Regions from separate parts of the Homo sapiens genome. Here all the other regions are linked to region 1. Evidence: promoter capture Hi-C in 16 types of primary human blood cells and fetal thymus (Javierre and others, 2016). All regions are on one chromosome and are shown on one strand. Each heading gives the region's core, a stretch centred on a gene start or on the middle of the fragment in contact. The rest is flanking DNA. Distances are from core to core; before and after follow the strand shown. Region 1 holds the start of SLC1A4 (solute carrier family 1 member 4). Region 2 overlaps LOC105374773 (a long non-coding RNA gene). Region 3 holds the start of LOC124907776.

The links. Contacts are between HindIII fragments. The CHiCAGO score rates a contact against its expected background, and 5 or more counts as called.
Region 2: a fragment that was not itself captured here is called in contact with the fragment with the promoter of SLC1A4 in region 1 in 1 of 17 cell types (total B cells); the score reaches 6.2 in total B cells.
Region 3: a contact is called between a fragment that was not itself captured here and the fragment with the promoter of SLC1A4 in region 1, in 1 of 17 cell types (fetal thymus). The highest score is 5.5, in fetal thymus.

Annotation. Positions count from the first base shown.
Region 1 is chr2:64,986,395-64,991,541 of GRCh38, reverse strand. It overlaps SLC1A4 (solute carrier family 1 member 4), which reads right to left and starts at 2,143. Exons shown (of 8, transcript NM_003038.5): 1 at 1,372-2,143. The coding sequence starts at 1,898. RefSeq lists silencers at 1,744-1,923, 2,134-2,833 and an enhancer at 1,557-2,141. The HindIII fragment of the contact is 3,825 bases long and covers 978-4,802 here.
Region 2 is chr2:64,592,084-64,597,230 of GRCh38, reverse strand. All of the region lies in intron 3 of LOC105374773 (a long non-coding RNA gene), which reads left to right. AFTPH (aftiphilin) reads right to left here. Exons shown (of 10, transcript NM_203437.4): 10 at 4,226-5,147. Among named protein-coding and RNA genes, the nearest start is that of LINC02579, 13 kb to the left of the region's middle. The HindIII fragment of the contact is 331 bases long and covers 2,495-2,825 here.
Region 3 is chr2:64,653,449-64,658,595 of GRCh38, reverse strand. It overlaps LOC124907776, which reads right to left and starts at 4,525. Exons shown (of 1, transcript XM_047446580.1): 1 at 3,373-4,525. The coding sequence starts at 4,316. The coding sequence ends at 3,885. It overlaps SERTAD2 (SERTA domain containing 2), which reads left to right and starts at 4,683. Exons shown (of 2, transcript NM_014755.3): 1 at 4,683-4,976. RefSeq lists an enhancer at 3,109-3,268 and silencers at 4,050-4,869, 4,607-4,901, 5,010-5,147. The HindIII fragment of the contact is 2,199 bases long and covers 1,320-3,518 here.

The sequences.
Region 1 (5,147 bases), core at 894-3,393:
GCAGGAGGATCGCTGAAGCCTAGGAGTTCGGGGATGCAGTGAGCTAGGATCCCAACACTGCACTCCAGTCTGGGCAAAAGAGCAAGACCCAGACTTTAAAAAAAAAAAAAAAAAAAAAAAGCTGTGATCCCCTTAAAAGTCCTAATAGGCCACCACTATCTGCCCTTTTGGCAAGAACTTTTGGTCTCCCTCATGAGTGGTTTTTTTTTGTTGTTGTTTGTTTGTTTTTAAATACGGATGTCCTAGATTTTTGTTGTTTTAAGTGAACAATCTCTCTCTTAAGTGCAGACAGCCATCACATTTTCCAGAAGGAGAAATGGAAACAGTTGGAAAGGCAAGTCACTTTGCCCAGGGTTTGCTGTTTTTCACAACCTCAGCAATGAGGAGCTTTGCCTCAATAACTCAAGACAAAATATATTAATAACTCCAAGGCTCAGAATCCAAAATCATCAGAAATCTGGAGAAGGAGCCAGCTGGACTCCTCACTCAACTGAACCTGGTTAGATCAGTAAATGCCTCCGGGCTGCAGTTTCCCCATTTGTGAACTTTGGGCTAATGGAGAAACCAGGAGAGACCAAGGTTTTGGATAAGTCACAGAAAGGATACTACATCATCTCAAAGGATGAAATGCAACTTCTAAGAATTGCAAAAAGCAGGCAAAACTAAGTGAAGATGCTTCTCTCCCTCCCCTCTAGAACTCACACTTTCGCACAAAGAAAGGCCTTTGAAACACAGCACTCTGCCGTGGTCTTTACTGGGGTGGACAGCAACCTGTCCCAAGCCCCAAGCCCTCAGGAGAGGCATATTTCTGGGCAATATGTCTCACTCAACTAACCCCAGCCCTATTATCCGTGGGTCCACTGATAACTGCAGAAAATTGCCAGCTTCCTTCGCAGCCAAGGACTGTAACAGAGAAGGCCATAGATTGCAAGCCGGATGACCCAAGAGGCAAAACTTAACCAATGCTCCCAGAAGCTTTTAGGCACCATGTGGGAGAAAATGAGGCGAAGCCACTGGGGCGTGGTCGGAACATTTTTACCGGGGAGAGCAGCGCGAGAGTATAAGGAGTAAAGAACAGGCGGGGCGGCTGGCTCTTCCCTAACAAACGCCCACCTAACGGTGGGGACTGGTTCTTGCTCAAAGATGCGGCCCTGCTCTTTCGATTGTGCGGTGCGCCCCAGCTGTTTGCAAAGGTGTGGTCAGCACGCAAAAACTCCAGACGTCATTTTGATATTTTTAAAACGTTAAACGCCACCAGCAGCCAGCTAAGAATTAACTCTTAGGAGTGTATAAGCATATGGGTGTATGAACTGGAGGGCATCCGAGAACTGGCGTCTCCCACTGGGCCCTGGGAGAGGTGGAGAGTGTTACCTGGCCAGGTCGAGGAAAGAGTCCACCGTCTCTTTGGGGACAGGAGGAGGCCCCGAGTCCTCCAGCCCCAGGTCGCTGGACTGAAGGGTCTGCGCACCGGATCCTGGCTTGATGATGAACGCCAAGGCCACGGCGAGCGCCGAGGCACTCAGTGTGGTGAGGCCAAAGTAGGCGACAGCGATGCCGCCCAGACGCCCGAGGCAGCTGGCATCGAGCGAGGCGGCGCCCGACACCAGGCTGCAGACCACCAGCGGCAGGATGATCATGCGCAGCATGCGGAGCAGCATCTCGCCGGGGAAGGCCAGGTAGGTGACCTGCGTGCGGCTCAGGCTGAGCCCGCGCAACGCCGCGCCCAGGCCCGCGCCCGCCAGCACCCCGGACACGGTGAGCAGCACCAGCGCTTGGCGCCGCAGGAAGCCCGCGCAACGCCGTGCGCGTCCCGCCGCGGTCCCCGGAGCTCCGGGCCCGGCCGCAGGCCCCGCCTGAGCGCTGTCAAGGTAGCCGTTGGTCTCGTTGCTCTTCTCCATGGCGCTACACGCCGCTCCGAGCTAGAGGTGGCAGGGGACGTGGGCTCTGGCAAAAGACGGGGTTCCCAATGAATGGGTCGGTCGGCCAGTTGTGCTCCGCAGGTTCTGGGAAGCCGCCCCGGGGGTCTCCGGGCCTGGCGCAGGAGCAGGTGCGAGAAAGGCGAGGAGAGGCGCAGAGTGCGGGTTGGAGCCGCGGGCGGAGAGGATCGCGCCCAGCCTCCCTGGAGCAGCCGCCGGCTGGAGATGATGCAAACGGGAGCCGCGAACGCGGACGCAGACGGGGAAGTAGGAGGGCGCGCCAGCGGCCCCAGCCCGCTCACTTCACGCCCGCCGTCCCGCCCCCTGTGGCGCTGGCCAATCACAGCCCGGGAGCCGCCGCCGGGAGCCGCCGCCGGGAGCCTCTGGTCCCCACCCGTGTCGCGGGTGCCGCAGGGGGCGGCCGGGCGGGAGGCTCCACCCGAGGCCGCGGGGGCGCGGGCGGCGCCGGCCAATCCTGGCGCCAATAGCCGCCTACCCGCCCGGCTAACGGAGGCCGGCTCCGGGCGACCGCGGGGAAGTGCGGGCTGAAGGACCGCCCGGGCTCCTTGGCACCTGCCGGGCCCTCTCCCGCGGCCGGGATCTGAGTCCTCGGGGCCAGAGGGCCCGGGAGAACTTAGAACGCAGCGGCGTTCCTCCTCCTGAGGACTGTGGGAGGGGAGGGAGGGGAGGGGAGAAGAGAGGAGGAGAGGGGAGGATCCCTCTCTCCCGGGTGGCGCTTTCGCCCCGCGCGGCCCGCGCTCCTCTCCAGAGCTCGCCGGCCTCTCCCGCCAGGGGGCCGGGCGCGGTGAGGGGGCCCGGGGCGGTCCTGCCGTCGCGTCCCCTCCTGCGGAAGATCCCTTCTTCCAGGGGTCCTCAGGGGCTTGTGCGGTAAAGCACGCCATGGTGCCCAGCAAGGCCCCGGCCTTGAGACAAAGGACGGACCGGAGGATGGATGAATAAGGGGAGCCTTCGCACGCGCTCATTAGGGCTCTAACGCAGCCATACCGCTAGAGAAAGGGGGCTCGCTGTGCCACCAAACCCGGCGCCCCTGGGCCGCGGAACCGCGCGCACCGGGGCGCTCCTGGGCTTGTGTCCTGGGGCCATCAGGATGGGGCTGGGTCGCCCGCCAGGCAGCTGTCTGCGGTATGGGCGTTTAAGACGCAAAGCTCTTCTAGAAGAAACAGAGCTCTCACGCCACCACTTCCAGTTGGTTTCTGCCACGTAACCAAAGCTGAAACACAAGCCACTGGATTTTAACCTCTTCCGTTCCCAGGCCTGAGCCCTGGCGAGAAAACAGCGCAGACGGCGGTTTGGCCATCCTGAACGGTTCCTTATTGTTCACGTTCTATGGATTTCCTGTTTATTTCATCTTTTATTTGATATCTGCTTTGGCCACGCGAGTTACAAGGGAAACTTCTGCTGAGTCTTTTTACTGTATCACAGTTATTATATTTTTATATTTTTTTATTCTGCTTGTGAATTGTTCTTTAAAGACTTCCGTGGGTGGTCTTTTGTTTTTTCTTTTTCCTTCCTTCCTTCCTTCCTTCCTTCCTTCCTTCCTTCCTTCCTTCCTCCCCCCCTCCCTCCCTCCCTCCCTTCCTTCCTTCTTTCCTTCTTTCCCTTTCTTTCCTTTCTTTCCTCTCTTTCTGGGACAAGGTCTCGCTATGTTGCCCAGGCTGGTCTCCCAGTTCCTGGGCTTATGGGATCCTCCTTGGTAGCTGGCACCACCCACTGTGCCAGGCAAGGGAAGACTTAATTGTGGCTAACCTCAATTAAGGAGGAAGGCAATTTACTATAGATTTCTTGCTATAAAGGAGTCATCTTAAAACATGTCATGACATATTTGTGCAAATCAAAATGCCTTCATAAGGAACTTTAAGGAGCTGTCCAAATTTTGAGACAGTGAGTATTTTATTGCTTGGAGCCAGCCAGCTATTGGCTAGAACTTGTAAGGATTGTGTGTGGGGGGGGGGGGGGTGGGCGGGGGAGGTAGTGTCAGATGAAGAGCTGCACATATTTATATCTGGCTTTCCAGAATGCAGTTCATTTCTCTATGTGCACTGAAGAAAGAGTAATTCCTACAGACACACACTGTGTTTTGCCAATCAGCCCTTCCCTTTGTTTTGACTACCACGTTTATGCAAAAGACTCTCAAATCATGCTCCAGAAATGAGTCTTCGGCTGCCTGTTTTACATCTTCACCTGAATATCCTGCAGGCGTCCCAACTAAAATGTTCAAAACCAAACTCATGGTTGCCTTCCTCAAACCTGCTCATCCCTTCGGTTAAAACATAATTGATGACCCAGTCACCTCTGTGTGAAACTTCAAAGCGAACTTTGATTCTTCCCTCTGTGGTGCCTTCTCTCATCTAATGAATTGCCAAGTCCCACAGAGATTCCTTTCACAATATTTATCACATCTGCCCATCCCATCTATTCCCACTGCTACCACACTGGCTCAGTTCTTATTTCCTCACTTCTTATCTGGGCTATTGAAATGTTCTCCCAATTAGTCTTCCCACCTCCAATGCTCCTCTTGTTCCAACCATCCTGTATTTTGCCTTGCCCCAGGCTAATCTTCCTAATGAGTAATATACATGTTAGGATAAAGTTCAGCTTTCACCCAGCAGAAAAGAAAGAGCAATGAGGGCATGGCATCTCTCTTTAAAAACACTTCCTAAAAGTCATACACATTATTTCTCTTATATTTCATCGATAAGAATTTAGTCAAATGACCATTCTTTTCTGCAAGAAACGTTAGGGAATGTAATTTTTGTTTTACACAGGCATCCACCCAGTTAAAAAATTGGAGTTTCTGTTACTAAGGAAACACAGAAAAATGATATTGGAGGACAACTCCTTCATATCACTTCTTGTTCAAAAGCTTTCAGTGGCTCCCAGTGAATTAAGAATGTGTTCCTCATCCTGGCATTCGAGACCTACCATGATCTGGCCTCAGCCTGCTCTCTAGCCATGTGCCCTCTATGCCTCCTGCAAAAATGGCGCTGTGTGCTCCTTCCACATTGTTTTGCCTCTCCATCCAGTCCCAGTTCAGATACCACATTCCTCCCATAGCCTTTCTGAATCCTCTTTGCACCAACTCTGCTTGCTGCTTGCAGCTTTTTATGCTGTACCTGTGCACTCCAAAGCTGCAATAACAGTCAGTCAACCCTCAATTGGGAGTGGGGAACTCCCTGAACTACTAGACATCGTGTGGTGCTGAGTGTGAGA
Region 2 (5,147 bases), core at 1,411-3,910, 390 kb after region 1:
GAAATGTTCAAGCTGCGTGAGGTTTTGGGGAGCATCTGTAGAAATGCTCAGGATGGCCCATGAGATGCCACAGGTGTAACATGATTGGATTTGGCAAGGCTTCACCTGTTTTTATGACTGGTGGGCAAGATGAAGAAATGTGGGCATCACTGGGTTGAGAAGCCGCACCCAGGGTCTTCCTGGCACACTGGATGTTTTACTGGTCAACATTTTGTGTGAGTGATTTGGATTATGAAGGATGTTTATCAATCTGTGGATGACAGAGCAGAGGAAGGAGGGCAAGTCTGTGTGTTGATGGTACAATGAAGATTTGATGGGATGAACGGGCTGAAACAATGGTCTAAAGCTGACAAAAAATCCTGAAAAAGGATCGATATAAAACCGTGCTTTTAGGCTCAAAAAACTCAGTGACACCAGGAGATGAGAGATGAGAGAAAAAAAATCTGGTTTGACGGCAGTTAGGGGTAAAAGGCTGTTCACACACTGAGCTAAAGAGGCAATATTGTTGCCATAAACGGTAATGCAATTTTAGGCTACATTAAAAGTAGGGTCTGAAATAAACCTGAGCCCCATGCCAGTGAAGAGATGGCCTCTGGCTCTGTCAGGGGAGCACATTTTAAGAGGAACTTTGGCAAACTGGACAATGTCCAGAAAAGAATAATGTGTGTGAGAAAGGCCTGGAAACCATGTCATCACGGGAGGTTTGGTAGGAGGAGGAGCATGGTAGTGATCTTCAGATATTCATGGAAGAGTCTAGGTTCATCCCTGCAGCTTGAGAGAAGGTAACTTGAACCAATGAGCAACCGGTTATGAGAAACCAGGTTTCCGCTCAAGGTCCTAGCAATCTGTGCTGCCAGCCAAGCGTGTGTGTGTGTGTGTGTGTGTGTGTGTGTGTGTGTGTACGTGTGCATTGGAGGTGGGCAAGGAGACTTCCTGGTGAAGTCCTGAGCCCACTCAGTGTCCCTGCAAATGTTCAGGCAAAAGGTGGCCAGCCAGCTATTCAGACGGGGGTTGGGGGTGGGGTGGGGATGCAGGAGGGTATAAACAAAAAAGCCAAGAGTAAGGGAAACTGGGTTCAGGTCCTGCCCCTGGTTATAGATATGTAATGATGTGCCAGTCAGTTTTCTTATTTAGGCTTCCATTTCTTCAGCTATGAGTATTGAGTCATCTTTGGTTTTCAACTTTTGGTAGCAATGGAACGTTTTTATTACATGAAATCTTCTGCAATCACCTTTCCCCTCCCTAAATATATAAGCCCAGTGTGTTATTATTGGACACACCCTGACTGTAGGTGCCAAGGCCTCCTGGCACTGCTGCGGGGCTCCTGGGAGTAGTTGGAAAGCACTGGACCAGCTGATCTTCCAGCCCTAAAATTCTATTCTTTAAGGTTTTCTCCTACCTTAGTTTTTGATTCTATAGACTCCAATCCCTCATTTTATGAAGTACCTGGTGCTTAAAAAAGGGATTTATCGAAGATCTTACAGCTGGTTAGTGACAGGGCTGTATTTAACACACAACTCCCACTCCAATTCAGTGTTCATCTCATCAGGCTGCCCCTACTTCCACCCGGGACTTGTCTTAGCACTTGTTCCTCCATGGTCCCAGGAAATCCTGTACTGCCCTCTATAGATCCTTTCCCTTTTGGAAAAGCATCAAGAAGGCAATAAATCTAGCCTGAGGCATTGCAGCCTGAGAAAATGATCTTGGAATTCATTTCTCTATGCATTAGTTTATCTCAAGGAAGTATGTTTATGAGCTGAGAAATAAAAAATAGGTGTGGCTCAGACTACTGGTTGCCCTATATGATCTCTTCTTCCTTACAACTAGGTTCCCCATCTTTTAGATGGCCACCCAGAATAGAGGTATTTCCCAGCCTCTGTTGCTGCTAGATAGGAACCTGCAATGAAGTTCTGGCCAATAGATTATAACTGGAAATACTGTGTATGCCCTAATGAAAGTATCCTTAATGGGAAGGAGAATCCCTTCTTCACTCTTTCTACCCTGATGGCTGGAATATAGGCATGGAAGGCCATAACCTTAACGGCCACCTTGGACCAGAGGGTAGAAACCATGTGTTGAGAATGATGGAACAAGCTAGTAAGGACTTCAGAAGGTGATCATATGAAGCCCCTTACCAGCCCCAGACTGTTTTCTTCCAGCATTTTACAGGAGGGAAATAAAATTCCACTGTTTAAGCCACCATTACCATTTTCATCTACTCTGTCATTGGTTGTAAGGTAGCATTACTTAGTACGTCGCTAAGAAAAAGAAACTGCTGCCAACTAAAGACAACCCATCCAATTGTATGACACATTCCAATTTCAGAGAAGTTAAAATGTGACAAAAGGATGAGTCTTACTACATGAAATGCAGTATTTTGGGTTTTTGTTACTCACAGCCAAGCCTAATCCTAACTGATTCAATAAACATGAAGGAATGAAAAGATGACAAATTCTACATAAAGAACACAATCATGAAGAGGGAAGAACAAGCTTCTCTATTAAAAAAAAAAAAAAAGACGACTCATAAAAATAGTACTGATGTGACTCAACTTAGGAAAGTTTTCTCCCATGCTTCCCAGTCTGGCTTGGATTAACCTGGGGAATTATGTCTGGCTCTCGGGACTTGGGCATCCAGTGGGATGAAGCTGCGGGATGAATGAGCTGGTTTTAAGACATAGAGGACCCAAAGCTGTTTGCTGAACCCCAGTGTAGGCTTTGGCCTTTTGCGGCTCCTACTACTTAGTTTCTTCCCCTCTTAACTCTGCAGGAACTTCCTGGTTGACTTTAAGACAGATGTGCAGCTGCTGATGACCAAGACAAGCTTGTAAGCGACAGGCTGCCCCTTAGCTGAGATCCCAAGAAGGTGCTCAAAGCTCTTCCTGCCAGCCACTGCTATTGTATAGTTTAAATCTGGTCTGGCACAAAGCTGACCATCTTTTGGTCTTCAGTACTGAAGCATTAACTTTAAGTTATGATGATCCAATATTAATGTACCTGTTATGAAATCATCAAAGACCAATACAACAACAAAAGGAAAGTCTGGCTTATCTAAAAGTGGTTATAAGATGAAATATCTGAGTCATTAAAATAAGCCACTTTCATAACGAAGGCCCACTTAATTTTAAAATGCCAAGTGACTCTATTATTATTTAGTGACCCTTTCTCCTGTGTCTGCTTCTTGAACCTACTGGGACTCCAGGAGCTTTCACGGAGTTCCCTGATGCTATGCTCTGGCTACCGCTCACTGACTGTTTACTCATGTGACAAATGTCTTATTAAATACATCCATTATTTAATACATCAACCTCATGAGGTAGGATCACTCCCATTTTTATGGATAATTCAGGCTCAGAGAAGTTGATTAATTTTCTCTTGGTAACACAGTTAACATGTGGGCTGTGAACTTAGGTTGGTGAAACTTGCCATTATAATTTAGTTGTAATGTACTATAGAAGTAGCCCTTTATGTTTCAATTACTGAAACATGAAAAATTCTGCTAAGGAATTTTCCGAGTCATCTTTTTCCACCCAAAAGGTTTGCTGGACACTAAAAACTTGTGATTATTTTGAAAGAAAGTTTCTCTGAAAAAGACCAAACTTTTTTTTTTTTTTAATAGTTAGGGAAATGGTGGGATATGGACTGGATAGGCATCTTGTCACTCCGTCACTCCAGGCCATACTTACATTACACTCAGGCAAGCGTTCCAATGGCCAGTGTAATCCCCTGGCAACACAGGAATCTGCCAATGACAGAGGTGCAGGAGTTCCACTGGCACATTCCCAGAGTGGATGAGGCCGACTGTCAGCTGACTGCCTGTTCCTGATGCAATGTCATGTGACTTTTTGCTGAAGCAATATCTAATATTCTAAAATTTTTAGACTTTTTCTGCCTACCTTCATTTCACGCTTATATATTCTTGGAAAGAAAAAAAATCCCTACAAATCCCTATTTAACCTTGCCAATACTCTGATGAAGACACATTATAATGAATCATGGGAATTTCTTTACTGATCTCATGTTCTATATAAAAACAAACAGCTCAGCTACTAAAAGTGCTGATCCAATTCTTATAGGCCAGATTCTAATTCTTCCTGGCTTCAACAAAGTAGAAGCCCTACCAAAGATTTTCTCTGGATTGAAATATGTTAATATTCAACAAAACTTCTCATTCAAACTCATTACATTTTTCCTCACATACCAAAGTACAAAGACACCAGGCTAAATTTCTTTTAAATTATTTTATTTTTGTATAAGCTAAAAGGAAATTTACACACTGAAATTTCAAAAGACCTTGGGCATGCACATTAACCTTGTTAGAGGTTCTTCTACATGTCTCTCTTTTTTCCATAGGAATTTCCCCAAACATTTAAAACCCATAGTTTTCACTGTATATACAGCCTAAACCATAGCAATCTATGATTATGTCATTTTACACTGTGCAAAATCCTCAAAAAATAGTGGTACAATAGAACAAAAAAATCAGTAACAAGTAAATTCCATTGTAAGACATTCATATAATTTGGTCCTTCTCTGAATCATACTGATTTTAAACAGACACAATCTCTTTAAACCCCTCCAATCAAGTTCTGACAATGATCCATACCCTATAACAAAAGAGCAATTAAGTACCTTGCAAAAGGTCAAACAGCAATACGCCAGATTGAAAAGATTAAAAAAGCCCCAAAATGTTAACAAAAGCCAGATCTGAAACCCATCATACACAAAATTAAAAAAAAATTAAATGGGGGACTTTGGAGCTTATTTATGATAGCAAAAGTAATTTGACATGTAATATGAAAAATCAAGAGGACAGTCAATGCAATCTGAAAAGACTGAAGGGGATTTCACAGACAGTGAAGATTTGAGTTTTTTTTTTATTTCAAAAGTTTTGTAAGAAGGACACCACCAGTGTATTTCACAAAGACATAAATGTATACACCCCAGCAACACAAAAAGAATAAATCTTCAAAAATGTTTACCCCCGATTATTTACATTTTTCTAATATAAATTTAGGACTTCAGTATGTAAATAAATATACATTACTATGTATACCTTTCTAGTGCGGCTTACCAACAAATCAGCTGAACTTGAATTTTTTTTTTTTTTTTTTTTAATTAGAGCAGGTATGCTTTTGATGGTAGGGA
Region 3 (5,147 bases), core at 1,170-3,669, 330 kb after region 1:
TAGCCCTAAAACTCCTCCATGAGGATATTGACAGTGTAATCACTGTTTCATAGACTCTTAGCTCTAGGGAGGGGCTCTTGAAATCTTTGAGTCCAAGTTCCTTTTTTTGCCAGGTGTCGAAGCAGGCCCAGTGCAGAGGGTCTGATTCGGCCTCCCTGCTCGCTGTGGCTGACGAGCTAGCCCTGAAATCACCTAACTCAACAACCCTGTGCTCTTTTGACGAGAACTGGTGCTGATCCTAAATCCGTGACCAGTCAATTAAGAAACTAAAAAGTCATAGATTTATCATGGTTAAGTAATTAATGTGTACAAGATCTTCAAACTCCTAGTCCAGGACTTTTCCTGTCACCAGGCTGGTTCCTGGGGGCAAGAAAGGTCTGTGCAATTTCTAACATTCATTGAAATTTTCTGTGGAAGCTAGAAGTGTGCTCAGTGCCTTGAGAAGAGTGGGAACTTCTCAAGAATGATGGATGGCTTATAGACAGGAATAAATACATAGTCGATGCGTAGAGGCAATGTGTGTTGTGTAGGGAGCTGGGGATGGGAGATGTTTCTGAGAAGTGACCACCAGTCTTAGTGGAGTAGTGTCCCTACAGGAGGGAACCCTGGAGTTGTCAGAGTCACCAAGAAGGTTCTTTGCATTTTGATAGACTGCACAAGGCTTTTGAAGATTCAGTGGAAAATGGAATAGGAAGGAAGCTGATGCCTAACAGAAGCCATCTTCTCCAGTAATAGTTCGAAGGGACTGACCCCAAGTGCTAGAAAAAAAGGAAATGGTTTTAAAAGCATTTTCTTTAAATATTGCCATGAAGATTGTGTTTCAGGTTTAGATTTACATATTGTCAGATTTTTAAAAGAGAAAAAGGTATATCTTTAACAGACAAGTGAAACCTCCCTCAGAAGGTAAGAAGCAGTCGTTGCAAAGCAGTTCAATGTAACAACATGGAAAGCTTTGCAAAGGGGCCTTCACTGGAGCTGTAGTTCTGCTTTTATGAATTGTGACTTCAGGGAGGAGCAGAAAAAAACCATGACAAAAGCAGGTGGAAGAAGAGATGGAGAAAAGTTTGCAGAAGTAGAGGAGTTCACTTGCTGCTTCAATAGAATTGTTTTAAATTGTTAGTGGCTGAAAAGGACTGAATCTGCCTGTGCCATCTTTGCGAGAGTATTTACTTTTCCAAATCATTGTATCCTCTATTGACTCCTTGCTAATCAGTTAGGTGATGTGACTTCCAGAACTTTATTTTGAAGACTTATTCCAATATTCATTTATCCGAATGATGAGTCCACAGTTAGGATCTCCGTATTTTCCATGAAAAGCTTATTTAGCCTAGCTGGCTCTATACAATTCATTTAATAACTGAAACATTTATCTTTTTTGCCATAAAACCAAGACCAATATTTGCAAGGTATATAGATGGATGATCATTACTGGCATTTCAGGTGGAACCTGAAAGATAAAAATTTAATAAAAGCAAAGGAAAAATGAAATTAAGTTCAAAACCTGTTGTAAAGTCTTTGTTTCTCAGTTTATATACCCAGTTTGCCCCTTGTGTTTTTGGTGTGTGCTAATTAAGTGCCAAAAGTGGCCTTCAGTTAGTGCACTAGTGTACTAGTCTATAAGATGTGAGGGCACAGAAACTTTCAAAGGAGAAGCAGTGAAGTGTAAACTAGTACCCAGAACTACAAAATGATGCCGAGAAGTACTTCTCTGAAATTAAACTCAGGAGCATTTTTAAAATTTACCATCACAGTTCTATACTTATAAAAGAAATGTTTCTTTTCTCCCTAAACAGATATGTTCCTGGTAGTTAAATGTGGATGACTAGCCTAATTTCTTATAACTGTTCTAAAGTTATGTTATATGAAAGTGAGAGGCAGATCTTCTAAATTCTGGATGAGGCCCTCAGAGTAGGATTATTTTAAATGGGATTTTGTTTTGAGACAAGATCTCACCTACATTGGAATGCAGTGGTGTGGTCATTGCTCACTGCAACCTTGAACTCCTGGGCTCAAACAATCCTCCCATCTCAGCCTCCTTAGTAGCTAAGACTATAGGCATGCATCACCATGCAGGGCTGATTTTTTCATTTTTTGTGGCGATGGGGGTGTCGCTATGTTGGCCAGAATGGTCAACTCCTGGCCTCAAGTGATCCTTCTATCTAGGCCTCCCAAATTGCTGGGATTACAGGTGTGAGCCACTGCACCCAGCCCTTAAATGGGCTTTTAAATCTCCCAAAGAGTGAGAACAAAATTTACATATTCACTAAACACTGCTTATTCAATGACATGATTTGAAATAATATTTTATTGAATAAATATTTCAAATCATGTCATTGCATACTGAAGGGAGCTGACTTCAGAAGTGTGGAAAGTGCCTTTCCTTATCCTCATAGACTTGAATTTCTAGGGCTGGGTAGAGATTGCTGTCCTGGCCTATGTGTGGCTCAGCCTTGGGGTAGGGGGTTGCATAAGGGGAGGGAGAGGGTTAACCAGCTGGTGTTAACCACATTGGCAGCTGTTGAAACTGCCAGCTCACTTTAACTTCTTGGTCAAAGATGCCAGATTCTAAAAGTGGGGGAAGTGGGAGCTATTTGTAATGTGTACATTGATAAGATGTTACAGCCTTCAGAGGTATAAAGAGATGGAAACTATTTCACTCCAAAAACGCAGGTTGCTGGTCTCGTTAAGAGCGCAAACCTTTGTTTGAGCAGGTACAGAATACAGACCTTATGGACTTCAGCAGAATCCTGTCTATCCTAGTGACACAAAATTGTCACTTTGACTTAAATCCTGTTATTTTATACAGAAACACTGCATTTGGTGTAATCTATTTGCTAGAAAATATCCAAGTGTCACAAAAGTTCTGCAAGTGTAACTTCCTGCTTACTTTAATTCAAGAATAGCAGTTTAAATTCACAAATAGCAGTTTAAATTCACCTTAAATTCAACAGAGCTAATGCCTCTGGCCTCCTCTACAAAGATATCACAGGAAGAGATTATTGCAGCTTCTATTTCAATGGCTTTTCCTTAAAGTGAGCACTGAAAGTATAAGTGAGTGGGTGGTTAGGAAACTGTTAGTAGTTAATGCCCTCTCTAAACTGCAGAACTCTGGAAATGAAAAATATCTTCGCTTCACAGCAAAATGTTTGAATGTTATGCCACTCAGGCGCAAACTGAGCAAGACCTGCAGAGGGCCGGTGAGCACAGCTTCCATAATATGTCATTTTGAATGCCATTATAATGAGACTTTGCAAAGATATCCACAAATAATTAGCTTTTGGCTTAGGTTATACTGTATAAGACTTTAATTATACTGAGGGTCCAGTAAAAACCTTTTCCATCCTCCTTAAAGATAAAACAAGAAGCGTTGTCTCCTCTATCAACATTTCAGCACAAGTTTAATTTCGATGAGATCATCAATTTGATTGATAACAAATCATTACAGAACAGTTTAAACAAGTCTAAATTTCTCTTGATGTTAACGACTTACAATCGCCTTTATGTTAGGTCTTAAAGCTTTATTATTCTTAAATACAACTAGTATAGTGGACCATTAAACTCCAAAGTGATCTGAAATGATATTGATTGGGGTGGCAGCCAAAATTTTAAGGTGCCTGCCTGCATTGCCTTTTACATCTTGACGCTGAATGCACGTGTAATTTTTAAAATAATCATTAATTTTCCAGTGGAACCATCTATCTGGCCTCTTTCCCTAGTGCTCTTAAATTCTCACCATTTGGGCATACACACATTCTCTTCCAACTAGTATAAATTTCCCTGGTAAATTTAAGTAGTTCCAAGCATAAGCTTACTCCACGGGAGGGAAAGGCTATCAATGTGAAACTTGTGGGCAGAGGACTGCGCCTCCGACCTGGCTGCGTCTCCTAGCTTGGCTTCCCTCCTGCCGGGTCTGCACCGAGCCCCGGCCGGCCCCGAAGGATGCAACTCGTTCGGTCCGGCTCCCAAAGTGCCGTGGACTTGGTGACCCACTTCTCGTGTCGGGCTGAGGCCACGCGGGCAAGGGACTTTTTCTGTCCCCGGCTCACGGCTGGAGCCCCCATCCTGCCGTTCGGACCAGTGCGGGCCTCGGAGGAGTGTCCCGCAGCGGACCCCCGCCCAGGAACCCCTGCAGGCAGCGAGACGGGCGCCCGGGCCAGCTCTCTGCCCCTCGCCCCCCGCGGGGACCCTGCCCGCCCCGCTGACCGGCCCCACGTTGCCAAATAGCTCAAATGCTTGTCATATTTGCGGTCGCGCGGCTCCGCGGGCTGTGCACGCGCTGCACTCGCCGCCGCCTTTGTCACCAGCCGCTTCGTCATTCGCCTGAGCACTTCTAGAGTGTGTAGGGGGCGTTACTAGTGGCAGTGGTGGTCCTCGGGCCGGAGTGTCTCCTTCTGTCTCCCCTCCTCTTTCAGCCCGTCCTTACGAGAAAATCAGGGGCGCGCCGGCCCGGCAGGGAGCTGGGGGCGGCGCTGCCACCAGGCGCCCACTGCGCCCCGCCGCCCCTTCCTGCTCCTCCTGCGGCCGCGGCCGGCCGCGGCCGGCCCCGGCCTTTATCGCGCCTCCCGGGACCGCCGGGGAGAGGCGGGCCGGGGCGGGGCCGGCGGGGGCGGGGTCGGGCGGCCAGGGGCGGGGCCTGCGGCGCCGGGGCCCGGAGCTCGCGGGAGGCTCGCGGGCCGCACGTCACTCCTGCACGGCGAGTGCTGGAGCACGACGTACCGCTCGCTCGGTCAGGGCGCCCCCTCCGCCCGCCTCCTGCTTCCTCCTCCGCTGCCTGCCGCCGCCGCCTCCACCATTGTATAATGCTCGGGGCGCGCAGGCAGAGAACGGCGGAGTCTTAGCTTCAGCCTCGCCTGCTGCCCGCTCCCCGGCGCCACCCTCGGGCCCCTGGAGCGGGGCACTCCGCATGGAGCGGGAGTAGCTGAGGAGTGGGCGGAAACCCCTCCTGATGCGTTAGTTCCCAGGTGGAGCTGCATGTGGTAAGTTCTCCCGGCGTCGGGCTGGAGGGGATCCGCGGGCGCGGGGGGCTCCGGGTGGATGGGGGGCCGGTGTTGGGACTCGGCCAGGGCTGGGAGAGCCCGGAGGGCGGAGGAGGGGCCGGGCGCCGCCGCGGGAGGGAGCCGGGGACGGAGCAGGTACGGGAGGAGCGC